Regions from separate parts of the Homo sapiens genome. Here all the other regions are linked to region 2. Evidence: promoter capture Hi-C in human tissues and cell types (Jung and others, 2019). All regions are on one chromosome and are shown on one strand. The core of a region is centred on a gene start or on the middle of the fragment in contact, and the rest is flanking DNA. Distances in the headings are between cores, read along the strand shown.

Region 1 (4,127 bases), core at 71-2,570, 250 kb after region 2:
ACTTTATGTCTCTGTGATCTTTGGTCTTAGCTGTTTTATGTATTTAGTCTTATATGATCATAAGATTAATAACATTACATTCAGAAGATTATTTGTTTTCTGTCAGAGTTAAAATGTTTGTTTTTATACTGCATTGTAATATTAACGTACTGTAAAATAAAAGTGGCTTGTTCTTTTCAAGGAACAGTATCCTCAACAAGGGTCATTAGCCACAATTTTTAAAAAATTGGACGTCATAGTTTACATGTTAGAGGGCGTTTTGAAGCTTTGTATTTTTAAATTAAATGTTATAGAGTGATGTTTTCATGTTTCATAATTGTTTTCATCTGTGCATTTGTAGCCAACTTGAAAACAAAGATCCAGGGATTACTACTTAAAAGCCAGACTTCTTGGAGGTTATAGTGATGATTTTGATAGTATCTTGAGCCGTCTCATAATAACCTCAGGGTGAGAGATGGCCAACAGGAGACAGTCGAGGGACTTAGAAATCTGAATGAAATCTGAAGTTCAAATCTTCAGACATATACCACTAACCAAGAGATTGGTACCTCAGTCTAGTATTGTCTGTTTGTCTAAAATTGGTTCTAAGGAATCTAGGCTAGTCTGTCTATCCCTTTCAACTTTTGTGAGGCTGCACAAATGTAAAATGTTGAATAAAAAGCACTGATGGAAGTGTGTAGAAATTCTTCTCTTTGTTCTGTTGTAATTTTAGTTGCAGTGCAGCCTGGAGAGCAGCTTCTTAGTCCAGAAAGAAGGACAAATACCCCAAAAGCCATCAGCGAGGAGGAGGAGGAAGTAGATCCAAACACACAGAGTAAGTCTCAGGACCCATTTTTTTCTTACATGTTGTTCCTCCAGGACTTAAAAATCATTCACAGAGACGTGCACCGCGGTGAGTGTGGACTCCTGGAAGCGCACCGTAGCTCCGCTGTGTCCTGCTGCTCCTCCCTAGCTGTCAGGGAGGCTGTAGTCCATTGCTTTGCCAGCTCTTTTGTTTCCGAGTGAACACCTTATCCGTACACATGCGGCTGTCTCTGACCCTACAGACCAGCTGGGATGCCACTGGGGGAGCGCTCCCTTCCCCCCGCACTTCCCACACTCTGCAGTTATTCTGAGATCCTTGAGGGCAGGGAACAGGTTTGTCTTCTTTGTGTTCTCAGAAATTAATGCTCGGCCTCTGGTCAGCAAGCAACAACCTTTTGTTGAGTGATAATGAATAAATAAATGTTTCCCACATGAGTATTCAGTAACCTCAGTGTCAGGTTCAGCCATCTGTTTTGGTGGATATTTAAAAGAAAATTCCGCTTTTCCTACAGAAAAAAAAAAAAATCCAAATCCCAGTGATTTAAGCCAGTTATAGACTTAGACATATACTACGGCTTTTCATGCACTTTCCTCCCAATTCTAGAGTAGGTATTTTACTAGGAAAATGGTGGCAGTGCCTGTTGGGAGGAAGATTCTTTGGCCAAGTGTCTTTTGTTCTTGCCAGGGCCCCTAGGCTGCTGGGGTGCTTCAGCTTCTTTAGCCCAGTGTCTGGTGGGGAATGGCCCCTGTTGCCTGTCCCACAGAGGTGGGGGTGCCTCACCTGGAGCCTGTCCACACATTTTACACAGCACGCTTACCTGGAGCATCAGGCATCTTTTCCATGCTCTGTGGCTCAGGAAACACGCCTTTTCAATCATGAGTGCACCAGTGCTTTTGGGCTTTTTCTCCCCGCTTTTGTGCAATCCTGGTTGTGGATGGAGTTTTCCTGTCTTTAGTCTTCTGCATAGTACTTTTCTCTTCTGGTTCCCGGTTCAAGGTTTTGTAATTAGAGAATGACCCAGAAGCAATGGCATTTTAATGCACAGCCAAGGACTTCTCTGAATTTGTATCTCAAACCTCTGTGGGTCCTTCAGGCTTCAGTTTGTGATTTCATGATTTCTTGTTGCTACCTAAGGAATATGAAAACACCCACCTCCCTACTCTGCATCTTCCAGCCGAGTGGCACCTCAGGCTGTGGATCCTGTGCTTCTGTGGTGAGGATAAGAATAGTGCCAACCGTGTGGATTGAAATCAATCAGTTAATCCCTCCATGTAAAGCACCTGGAACGGATGACAGTCTTGTTATGAATACTCAACAAATGCTATCATGATTTTTAGTTAGATTTCCATTGCTTTAAAACAGTTGAGACATCTTGGCGGTTTGAGTTAGAGCAACGGGCCCTGAAGTGGGTTCTGTTTGGGTGAAGATGATTATGCTTATTCCCCATGGCCCTCTTTAGGCAAGAGTGGGAAGCTTTCTTTGTTTTTTTAATCACCTCGATAGGACGTTACTTCTTAAAGGTCATCCAATAAATATTAATAGGCCGGGCGCGGTGGCTCACGCCTGTAATCCCAGCACTTTGGGAGGCCGAGGCGGGCGGATCACGAGGTCAGGAGATCGAGACCATCCCAGCTAAAACGGTGAAACCCCGTCTCTACTAAAAATACAAAAAATTAGCCGGGCGTAGTGGCGGGCGCCTGTAGTCCCAGCTACTTGGGAGGCTGAGGCAGGAGAATGGCGTGAACCCGGGAGGCGGAGCTTGCAGTGAGCCGAGATCCCGCCACTGCACTCCAGCCTGGGCGACAGAGCAAGACTCCGTCTCAAAAAAAAAAAAAAATATTAATAAAGCCAACTCGTTAGCGTGGGGCTTAATTGCTTAAGTCCAATGAGAAGTCCTTCTCTATCCTAGGAAGTTGCCCAAACTGTAGAATCTCGTGGCCTGTGGGTAATAGCCACGTAATACACACTCACTGCCTCAACAAATCATATTTTAGTAGGTATGATATTCTAGACTCAAGACACCATTCTGTGGATCTTCCCAAGGGTGTGAAGTGTCCACAGCGTCTGCCTTGGGAGTTTCCATGCCCACCAGAACCATGCCCCAAGCCCCTCAAGCACTCTGACCTAGGAAAGCCAGTGAAGCAAGGATGACAACATGGCCCTTTGATACTAGCTGAGGGACAGACACAGGTCCTGGGAGACCAGAGAAAGACGAGGGGCAGAGGAGGTGTCCTAAAGGAAGTCTGAGGCTGAGGAGCCACAGGATGGCTTCCAGCTGTCACAGGCTGCTGCTGGCCTTATCACAGAGAGTGGGCCAGAGGGCTGGGAACCAAGGCCAGAGCTCAGGTTCAGGACCATTCCAGCAATCCCAGCAGAAAATGGGGAGAATTGTATGGTATAGGCGGATATGAAGGTAGAATCTGCAGGCCTTCAGTGGCCAACTCAGAGTCTAAGTGGATTCCACAGTTACAGCTTGAGCAGCTGGTTGTAGGTCATGCTTTCTACACTGGGCATATAGGATGTGTTTTTTAAAAAGTCCTCTCTTAACCGTTGCTTGTTTAGATCCTAAGTATATCACTGCAGCCTGTGAGATGGTGGCAGAAATGGTGGAGTCTCTGCAGTCGGTGTTGGCCTTGGGTCATAAAAGGAATAGCGGCGTGCCGGCGTTTCTCACGCCATTGCTAAGGAACATCATCATCAGCCTGGCCCGCCTGCCCCTTGTCAACAGCTACACACGTGTGCCCCCACTGGTGAGTCTGCTCGTTCCTTGCAGAAGACCAAGTACGGTGAAAGGCACCGGTAGGCCCTGGGCTGGGCACACGTGAGAGGGCGGGACAGAATCCCCGCAGCCCAGAGGCTGCCTGCTGTGGTTCTGGTGCCCACTGTGGTTCTGGTGCCAGGCTGCTTTCCTCAGGCACCACGTGTGGAGGTCGCTAGTAGAAATACTGGGTTTTCTAAAATGAACTGAGGCCCTACATCCCTAAGAGATTAGTGTTAGACCTGATTCTAGAGCAACTAGACCACTTTGCTTAATAGCAGACCAGAAACCACACCCCCTCGAGTGAGTGAGATTTTCCTTTGGAGATAATTCATGTTTTTCTACACAGTTTTGCAGTTGTCTTCAGAATTGGTTTAAAGTAGGTGTTATTGCCAGGCGCAGTAGCTCATGCCTGTAATCCCAGCACTTTGGGAAGCCAAGGTGGGCGGATCACTTGAGGTCAGGATTTCGAGACCAGCCTGGCCAACATGGTGAAACCCCATCTCTACTAAAAATATAAAAATTAGCCAGGTGTGGTGGTGTACGCCTGTAATCCCAGCTACT
Region 2 (3,935 bases), core at 212-2,711:
ATTTGGGTTACATAGCTTGGGTGGTGAACCTGAGCTGGCCCTTTAGAGACTTTCGGAGGTAAGGCAGACCTTTTGGACAAACTGAGTTGCAAGAGGCGAAGCAAGGACAACAGCCAGACTGTGCGGGACTCGAACGACAAGCCAAGAAGGTTAAGAATAACAGTATTTAGAGAACACTTGCTGTGTGCTCTATGTGCTATCTTACTTAATTCTCACAAACCACCACGAGGGGTAGGATGTATACTATCATCTCTACTTTTGAAATGAGAAAACTGAGGCTTCAGTGGTGAAGACAAATGTGTCTCTTCTAGGGAACCACACTACCTTATTCTCCCACCCCGGCCCGGGGGTGTGTAATGAGGGACTCCTATCGAAGTCAGCTGTAAGTCTATCTTGCCTATTCATTATACAGGCTGTCGTCTTCGCGCAGTAAGGATAATATGTGTTTTGATTCAAAGACCATCCAGCTTGCACACTGTGATGAACAGAGATCAGGAGCTCATGAAGGCAAGGGCAAGTCTTATTTACCTTTATCTCCCCGAACCTAGAAGCGAGGTCAAACAGAAGCGCTCGGGGTAGCAAGAAGGCTTTGTAGATATTGAAATGTGAATGCATGCCCAGCCCTTACCAGGTGCGTGACCTTAGGAAATGCACTTGTCCTTTCTGTGCCTTAATTTTTTCACCAACCTGCTAATGTATGTTCCTCAGTGAAAATTTAAAAAAAAAAAAGTTAAAAAAACTAGGAAGCAATGAGTTTCCATAGAGTTACTTCCCAAGGAACAAGGTTACGCGCTTCGGGAGAGAGCCGATGAAACATCAAACGCAGCATCCTACACAGCCCCTATCCACCGTCCCCAAACCTGCAGAGCTCAAAGTAAACGCGGAAGGGTTAACAAGCAGCTTGGTCCAGGGCGCCGCCCGAAGTGACTGACTCGGCCTGACCCGGTTGGAGGAGTCGCCGAAATAACACGAGTGCAGGGTCTCCAAGACGGCGAGAGTTTCCAGGTCACTCCAGCTCAGAGAACAGCAGAGGCTTTCGGACTATCAAGTCAGTGCCGTGTGCCTGTCACGGCCTGTGCCGCTCAACGAGGAAACCGACGCACCGAGAAGGACGCAGCCGGCCGAGAGCAGCGTGGGGTCCAGATCCTGCCTTCCGGCTCCCCGTGCGCCCCCCGCTTACCTTCCTGAGGGCCCGTGCGCGAGACACCCCGGGCAGTCCCACGTCGTGGCGCGTCTTCCGGCCCAGGATCTGGAACTTCTGCCTGTTAACTTTCACCTCGAACGGATTGGAGTTGGCCTTCGCCGGGCCCCCTCGCGCTCCCGCCGGCGCCCCGGAGGCCTTCCTTCGCGCCCCGACCTTCTTCGCCTTCGCCATGGCGCGCGCCCCGCTGCGCCCAAGGGCCCGAGACCCGAAGAGAGACAGGCGCGCGCTACCCTAAGACACGTGCCGGGCCGCGGAACCGCTTCCTCGTCTCGCGAGAACAGCGCAGCACCTCCGACTCGCGAGAAGTAAACACCGCGCCCGCAGGCTCGGCTTACTCGCCGATAGGCTCAGCGACTACAACTCCCAGCAGGCCACGCGCCGCGGCCCGCCGTGTACTCTTGGCGCAGGGCCTTCTGGGAGCTGTAGTGCCCCGGCCGCGGCGGCGAGGGGCGCTCCCTCTTCAGCTAAGCCGTTAGCGCCGAGCCCGCCCGGGAGCGGGTCGCCGGCCGCGGCGGGCGCCCCTGCCAGTGAGCCCCTGTCCGAAGTGAGCCACGGCATTGACTCGGGGCTGCCCGGGGGCAGGGCACTGAGGAGGGAGTTGCGCGCGCGAGGCGAGGGCGATGGGGCCAAGAAGAACCGGGGCGATAGCGCGGCAGCGGTGACAGCTGGGACCCGCCGCGGTCGGGCTGCCCCCTCCCCTCGCCCCGACCGCTCCCCTGCTGGTGAGGGCCTGCGGAGGCGGCGGCGGCGGCGCCCTTGGTGGCAGTGGTGGCGGCGGAGCAGCCTCCCGGGATCGTGTCCGGAGCTCGAGGAGAGGGTGGTGCCCGGCGAGCTATGCACGGGGGCGGCGGCGTCTCCTCCTGTTCCGCCTCCTCAGTCTCCTCGGTCTCGCAGAATCCGCCGGCGGCGGCGGCGCCAGGACATGGAGCTCGAGAACATCGTGGCCAACTCGCTGCTGCTGAAAGCGCGTCAAGGTGGGTGCGCGGCAGGCGCCCCCGACCCCCCCCCCAGAGAACCCCGAATCCCGGGGAACCCTGGCCCCCCTGAAGGAACCCGACATCCCCGGAGAACCCCGATTTCCCTGGAGAGCCCCGACACCTCCCACTGGGGGAACCCAGATCTGCACGGAGCCGGAGCCGGGGTCTGTGCAGTGTGGTCAGGCTGCCCGGGCCAGGTCCCAGTCCCCATCTCCTGGCCCAGATGAGAGAAGTCTGCGCTTTGCTCTTCTTAGTCTTGCCCTGTGTCCTTGTCCTGTCCTCTCGGTGTGACCTCGGTGACAGTGTTGCTTCAGGATGCGGCAGGCAGTGTCCTGCTTGTGTTGGACAACCTGTCCCACCAAAAAAGAACGGCGTCTTTATGGTCTTAAGGGGGACAAAGAATAGCAGCCTGGGAACTACTCTGGGCGAGAACCTTCCGATAATGATTGTAGGGCAATGTTATTTTTAACATAGCTGCTTGGTTTTGAGGTTTGATCTGAGGCTCTATGGTGTGTCAAGTGTGCTTTAGCACGACGTGGTCACAGATGGACAAGTTGGCAAAAATTCAGCCTTTTATCATTATTAAAGTGAGGCAGAAATTTAAAAATAGTAATAAGTACTGCATTCATTCACTCCAAGAAAAGAAAAAGCCAAGGCCCAGAATGTGGCAAGGCAAGGGTTAAAAAGAAAAGAAGAACAAGTTTTCTTTTGCTTAGCAAGCTCACTTTAAGGACAGTTATAAGATAACGCTGTTCTGTTTGAGAAGTCGAATCCAAAGGAATAGGCTCCAGACACCCCCCTTCCAGAGCAGGGGTGAAGAAAAAAAAAAAAGAGGACAAATATCTGTGTTTAGCCAGTTCTTGGTTTTTTCTTTCAACGCAGCTACAAGGCCACCAGCTATGCAAGGCCACAAGTTATGCCAAGTCATCAGTTATGCTATAGATTATGTGACCTGTCATTATATGATTAACTGCCTTTGTTTTGCTTCTGTAAGTTTGCTTATAAAAATCCTGCTTAGTCTTTGTTCAAGGCTCAGCTTTTTGGATGTGAATCCACTGAGCTGGTGCGTACCTTAACATAAATATCCTCCTGTTTTCACCCATGCTGGTCTCTCTAGTCCTCTGCATCCCGCCACAAAAGCATCAGTTGGTCCAGCCCTTCAGCGGGAGACCCCCACAATCCTCTGTGCAATCCTCTGTCTCGGACCTCATGTCTCCCTTGCCTGCGTCTCAAGAGAGCTGGCGACAGAGCCTCGGACCTCAAGTCCCTGTGCTAGCCACGGTAGTTCTTCACACCCCGTCACTCTTACGGAATTGCTGATTTCCTCTATTTCCTTGCGTGATGGAGCAGCTCTGCTCGGACTGTGCTCCAGGACAGTGTAAATGCCGACTGAAGATGCCACAGCAGCCGGCGATGCATATTTAAAGGACAGTCTGGAGCCGAAGGTGGCGGCCACGCTTGTAGTCCCAGCTACTCTGGAAGCTGAGGTGGAAGGCTCACTTGGGCCCAGGAGAGTCCAGCCTGGGCAAAACACAGCAAGACCATCTCTTTAAAAAAGTCTAAAACAAAGACTTCATCTTCTCAGTATTTTTGTGCACCAACTCACACTATTTTGAATAGAAGAACTGAGAATGGGTGGGAAGAGAATGGGATCTTTTTCCCTTAAGATAATCAGGGAGTCCCAGAGCAGTATGCGTTCTCAGCAGCCATTTTCAGTGGAGCATTTGACTGTGCCTCTTATCCCTGACTGTGAA
Region 3 (4,053 bases), core at 1,112-3,611, 130 kb after region 2:
TATGGTGAGACTTAATGTATGTGACATTAAAATAGTGATTGGATGTTAAAACAGGTATAGAACAGAAAGAAGAGTGTATGTGTGTATCTGTATGAATTTATGATGGGTGTAACATATATGTATTAGGGAAATGAGGGAAATGATACATTTCTCTGACTTTGGGAGAACATTATATCTCTACCTCATATTGCAAACAAACATAAAGTTCAGATTAATTACCTAAATGTGAAAAAATGAAATAATTTCTTTAAAAAATGTAATCTTAGTTTGAGGAAGGTTAACATTATAAAGGAAAAAACTGTTTTGAGTGGAATATAGTTCAATATGTCAAAATCCACCTTCAACAAAATTGAAAGTAAATTGAACTTGGGGAAAGTATTGACAGCATATAGATCAAAGGTTACTAGCCTGTGTAAAGAGCAGTTATAAATATCGTTAAGAAAAACACTGTCGACCTGTCGGCACCTTGTTCTCCGACTCCCAGCCTCCAGAACTGTGACGAGTAAGTGCTTATTGTTTAAACCACCCAGTCTGTATGTGGTATTTTGTTATAGAAACTCAAGCTGATTAGGACACTAGTAATCAGTAGACTGAAACTGAAACAAAAATAAGAACCTTTTTTACCTGTCAAATTGGCAAACATTAAGAATATTCAGATTTTTGTCAGAGGTGATACAACCTTCTAAGAAGGCAATTTGGGAAAATATAAAGCTTTAGATTATTATATGTCTGACCTAGCAGTTTTACCTCTAGGGTGCTTACCCCTAGGAAAGTGTGTAATGATATTGGTGCAGTGCCCTTCATCCCATTAGAAAATTAAAAATAACCTTAATGGCCTACCACTAAAAGGGGATTGAAAATTTAAGATATATTTATTTATGTGTTTATTGAGATGGAGTCTTGCACTGTCCGCCTGGGCCAGAGTGCAATGGTGCGATCTCGGCTCACTGCAACCTCTGCTTCCCGGGTTCATGTGATTCTCCTGCCTCAGCCTCCTGAGTAGCTGGGATTACAGGCTCACACCACCGCACCCGGCTAATTTTTTGTATTTTTAGTAGAGATGGGGTTTCACTGTGTTGGCCAGACTGGTCTCGAACTCCTGACCTCATGATCCGCGCCCCTCGGCCTCCCAGTGTTGGGATTACAGGTGTGAGCCACTGCGCCTGGCCAGATACATTTATACAAGAGAATGTTAGTTAACATTCATAGATATTTATATTTTGTTTACTTTTTATTAAAAAAATTTTTTTTAGAGACAGGATCTTACTCTGTCACCCAGGCAGGATGCAGTTGCACAATCATAGCCCACTGCAGCCTGAACTCCTGGGCTTAAGTGATCCTTCTGCCTCAGCCTTTTGAGTACCTGGGGGACTTTAGGCAGTGCTACTATACCTGGCTAATTTTTAAATGTTTTATAGATGAGATCTTGCTGTATTGCCCAGGCTGGTCTAGAATTCCTGGGCCCAAGTGATCCTCCCACCTTGGCCTCCCAAAGCGCTGAGATTACAGGCATGAGCCACCACTTCTGACCAATAGATATTTATATTTGTGACTGGAAAATATATTAACAATGTGTTAAAAAATTCAGTTAAAAAATAATGAAAGATTTTTGCTTCTGGCTAAGATAGAATAACAAGGACAGCATTTATCTTCTTGCCTTGAAATAGTTGAAAACGGAAGAAATATATGTAACAGTGGTTTTCAAGTTATTGGGCATCAGGCAAAGAAGAATAGTTATCCCAGGAAAATGAATGTGGAGAGCCCTACAATTTCCTTACATTACTGCCTGGTCATGGCAAGAGGAAAAACTGAGAGGAGACTGAGGCTGAGCCAGTGGTTTGCTGGGTTGAGGAGGCAGAGCTGGGAGTGCAGAGATGCAAGGTGGTGAGAGCCCATATGGAAGAATACCAGGGAAGAGAGCTGCAGAGGGAGCTCCGGAGACCTGCACCCTGCCCTCTCAGTACCCTGTCATGTGTGTAGCTGAGTACTGACGAGCACTTGCTTGTGCGGAAATGACCCAGGGCTGGAGGTAGAGCCACCTGAAAGGATTAGAAGGAACAGTTGCTGAAAGTCACACAGGGCCAGGAAGAATTTCTAATCACACCAGTTGGAGTGGAAAACCTCAGCTCTCATAGAGCAGGTAGGGTACTCAGAAGGGTTTGCCCACCTAGCCCCAGACTAAGTTTCGTTACTCTGACCCTACCTAATATTAAAAAGAGATTAATTAAATTGTTCGCAACAAAAATAATATATTTCAGTGTTTGTAACACGTAGAAGTGAATTGTATGACAATAGCATAAAGGCTGGAAGAGCAGAAATTGACATGTATTTGCGCTGGGCAGAATAATGCTCCCCTCTTTCCCCAAAAGATATCAAGTCCTAATCCCTGGAGCCTGTAAATATTACTTTATATGGAAAATTGTTTTATGATGTGATTAAATTCAGGATCTTGAGATGAGGGGGCTATCTTGGATGATCTGGGTAGGCACTAAATGCAATCACATATATATAAAAAGGAGGCAGAGGGAGATTTTACACACAGAGAGAAGGCCCTGTGAAGATGGAACAGAAAGATTTGAAGGTGCTGGCCTTGAAAATTGGAGTGATGAAGCTATAAGCCAAGGAATGCAGCAGCCACCAAAGCTGGAAGAGGCACGGAGCAGTTCTCATTTAGAGCCTACTCCAGAGGGAATGTGGTGCTGCCAATTCCTTTTTTTTTTTTTTTTTTAAGATATCATTTACCCCTTTAAGTTGGTTTTTTTTTTTTTTTTTTTTTTTTAGTATTTATTGATCATTCTTGGGTGTTTCTTGGAGAGGGGGATTTGGCAGGGTCATAGGACAATAGTGGAGGGAAGGTCAGCAGATAAACATGTAAACAAAGGTCTCTGGTTTTCCTAGGCAGAGGGCCCTGCCACGTTCTGCAGTGTTTGTGTCCCTGGGTACTTGAGATTAGGGAGTGGTGATGACTCTTAACGAGTATGCTGCCTTCAAGCATCTGTTTAACAAAGCACATCTTGCACCGCCCTTAATCCATTTAACCCTTAGTGGACACAGCACATGTTTCAGAGAGCACGGGGTTGGGGGTAAGGTTATAGATTAACAGCATCCCAAGGCAGAAGAATTTTTCTTAGTACAGAACAAAATGGAGTGTCCTATGTCTACTTCTTTCTACGCAGACACAGTAACAATCTGATCTCTCTTTCTTTTCCCACATTTCCTCCTTTTCTATTCGACAAAACTGCCACCGTCATCATGGACTGTTCTCAATGAGCTATTGGGTACACCTCCCAGATGGGGTGGCGGCCGGGCAGAGGGGCTCCTCACTTCCCAGATGGGGCGGCCGGGCAGAGGCGCCCCCCAACCTCCCAGACGGGGCGGCGGCTGGGCGGGGGCTGCCCCCCACCTCCCGGACGGGGCGGGTGGCCGGGCGGGGGCTGCCCACCACCTCCCGGACGGGGCGGCTGGCCGGGCGGGGGCTGCCCCCCACCTCCCGGACGGGGCGGGTGGCCGGGCGGGGGCTGCCCCCCACCTCCCGGACGGGGCGGCTGGCCGGGCGGGGGCTGCCCCCCACCTCCCGGACGGAGCGGCTGCCGGGCGGAGGGGCTCCTCACTTCCCGGACGGGGCGGCTGCTGGGCGGAGGGGCTCCTCACTTCTCAGACGGGGCGGCTGGTCAGAGACGCTCCTCACCTCCCAGACGGGGTGGCAGTGGGGCAGAGACATTCTTAAGTTCCCAGACGGAGTCACGGCCGGGCAGAGGTGCTCTTCACATCTCAGACGGGGCGGCGGGGCAGAGGTGCTCCCCACTTCCCAGACGATGGGCGGCCGGGCAGAGATGCTCCTCACTTCCTAGATGGGATGACAGCCGGGAAGAGGCGCTCCTCACTTCCCAGACTGGGCAGCCAGGCAGAGGGGCTCCTCACATCCCAGACGATGGGCGGCCAGGCAGAAACGCTCCTCACTTCCTAGACGGGGTGGCGGCTGGGCAGAGGCCGCAATCTTGGCACTTTGGGAGGCCAAGGCAGGCGGCTGGGAGGTGAAGGTTGTAGTGACCC

Evidence for each region. The method cuts DNA at HindIII sites, captures the fragments that hold promoters and counts their contacts. A contact is called where the count stands out against the background at its distance.
Region 1: a fragment that was not itself captured here is called in contact with the fragment with the promoter of NOP14 in region 2 in 2 of the 25 tissues and cell types used here (H1 embryonic stem cells and lymphoblastoid cells).
Region 3: a contact is called between a fragment that was not itself captured here and the fragment with the promoter of NOP14 in region 2, in 3 of the 25 tissues and cell types used here (aorta, lymphoblastoid cells and mesendoderm cells).

Annotation. Positions count from the first base shown.
Region 1 is chr4:3,214,398-3,218,524 of GRCh38, forward strand. It overlaps HTT (huntingtin), which reads left to right. Exons shown (of 67, transcript NM_001388492.1): 51 at 713-814; 52 at 3,368-3,555. Among named protein-coding and RNA genes, the nearest start is that of MSANTD1, 33 kb to the right of the region's middle. RefSeq lists an enhancer at 1-55. The HindIII fragment of the contact is 5,430 bases long and covers 1-4,035 here.
Region 2 is chr4:2,961,945-2,965,879 of GRCh38, forward strand. NOP14 (NOP14 nucleolar protein) reads right to left here and starts at 1,462. Exons shown (of 18, transcript NM_001291978.2): 1 at 1,181-1,462. The coding sequence starts at 1,375. It overlaps GRK4 (G protein-coupled receptor kinase 4), which reads left to right and starts at 1,627. Exons shown (of 16, transcript NM_182982.3): 1 at 1,627-2,178. The coding sequence starts at 2,127. RefSeq lists enhancers at 20-89, 1,120-1,653, 1,654-2,187 and silencers at 1,650-2,079, 2,250-2,299. The HindIII fragment of the contact is 12,457 bases long and covers 1-3,935 here.
Region 3 is chr4:3,091,151-3,095,203 of GRCh38, forward strand. The region is part of intron 2 of HTT (huntingtin); the gene reads left to right. Among named protein-coding and RNA genes, the nearest start is that of HTT, 18 kb to the left of the region's middle. The HindIII fragment of the contact is 5,503 bases long and covers 1-4,053 here.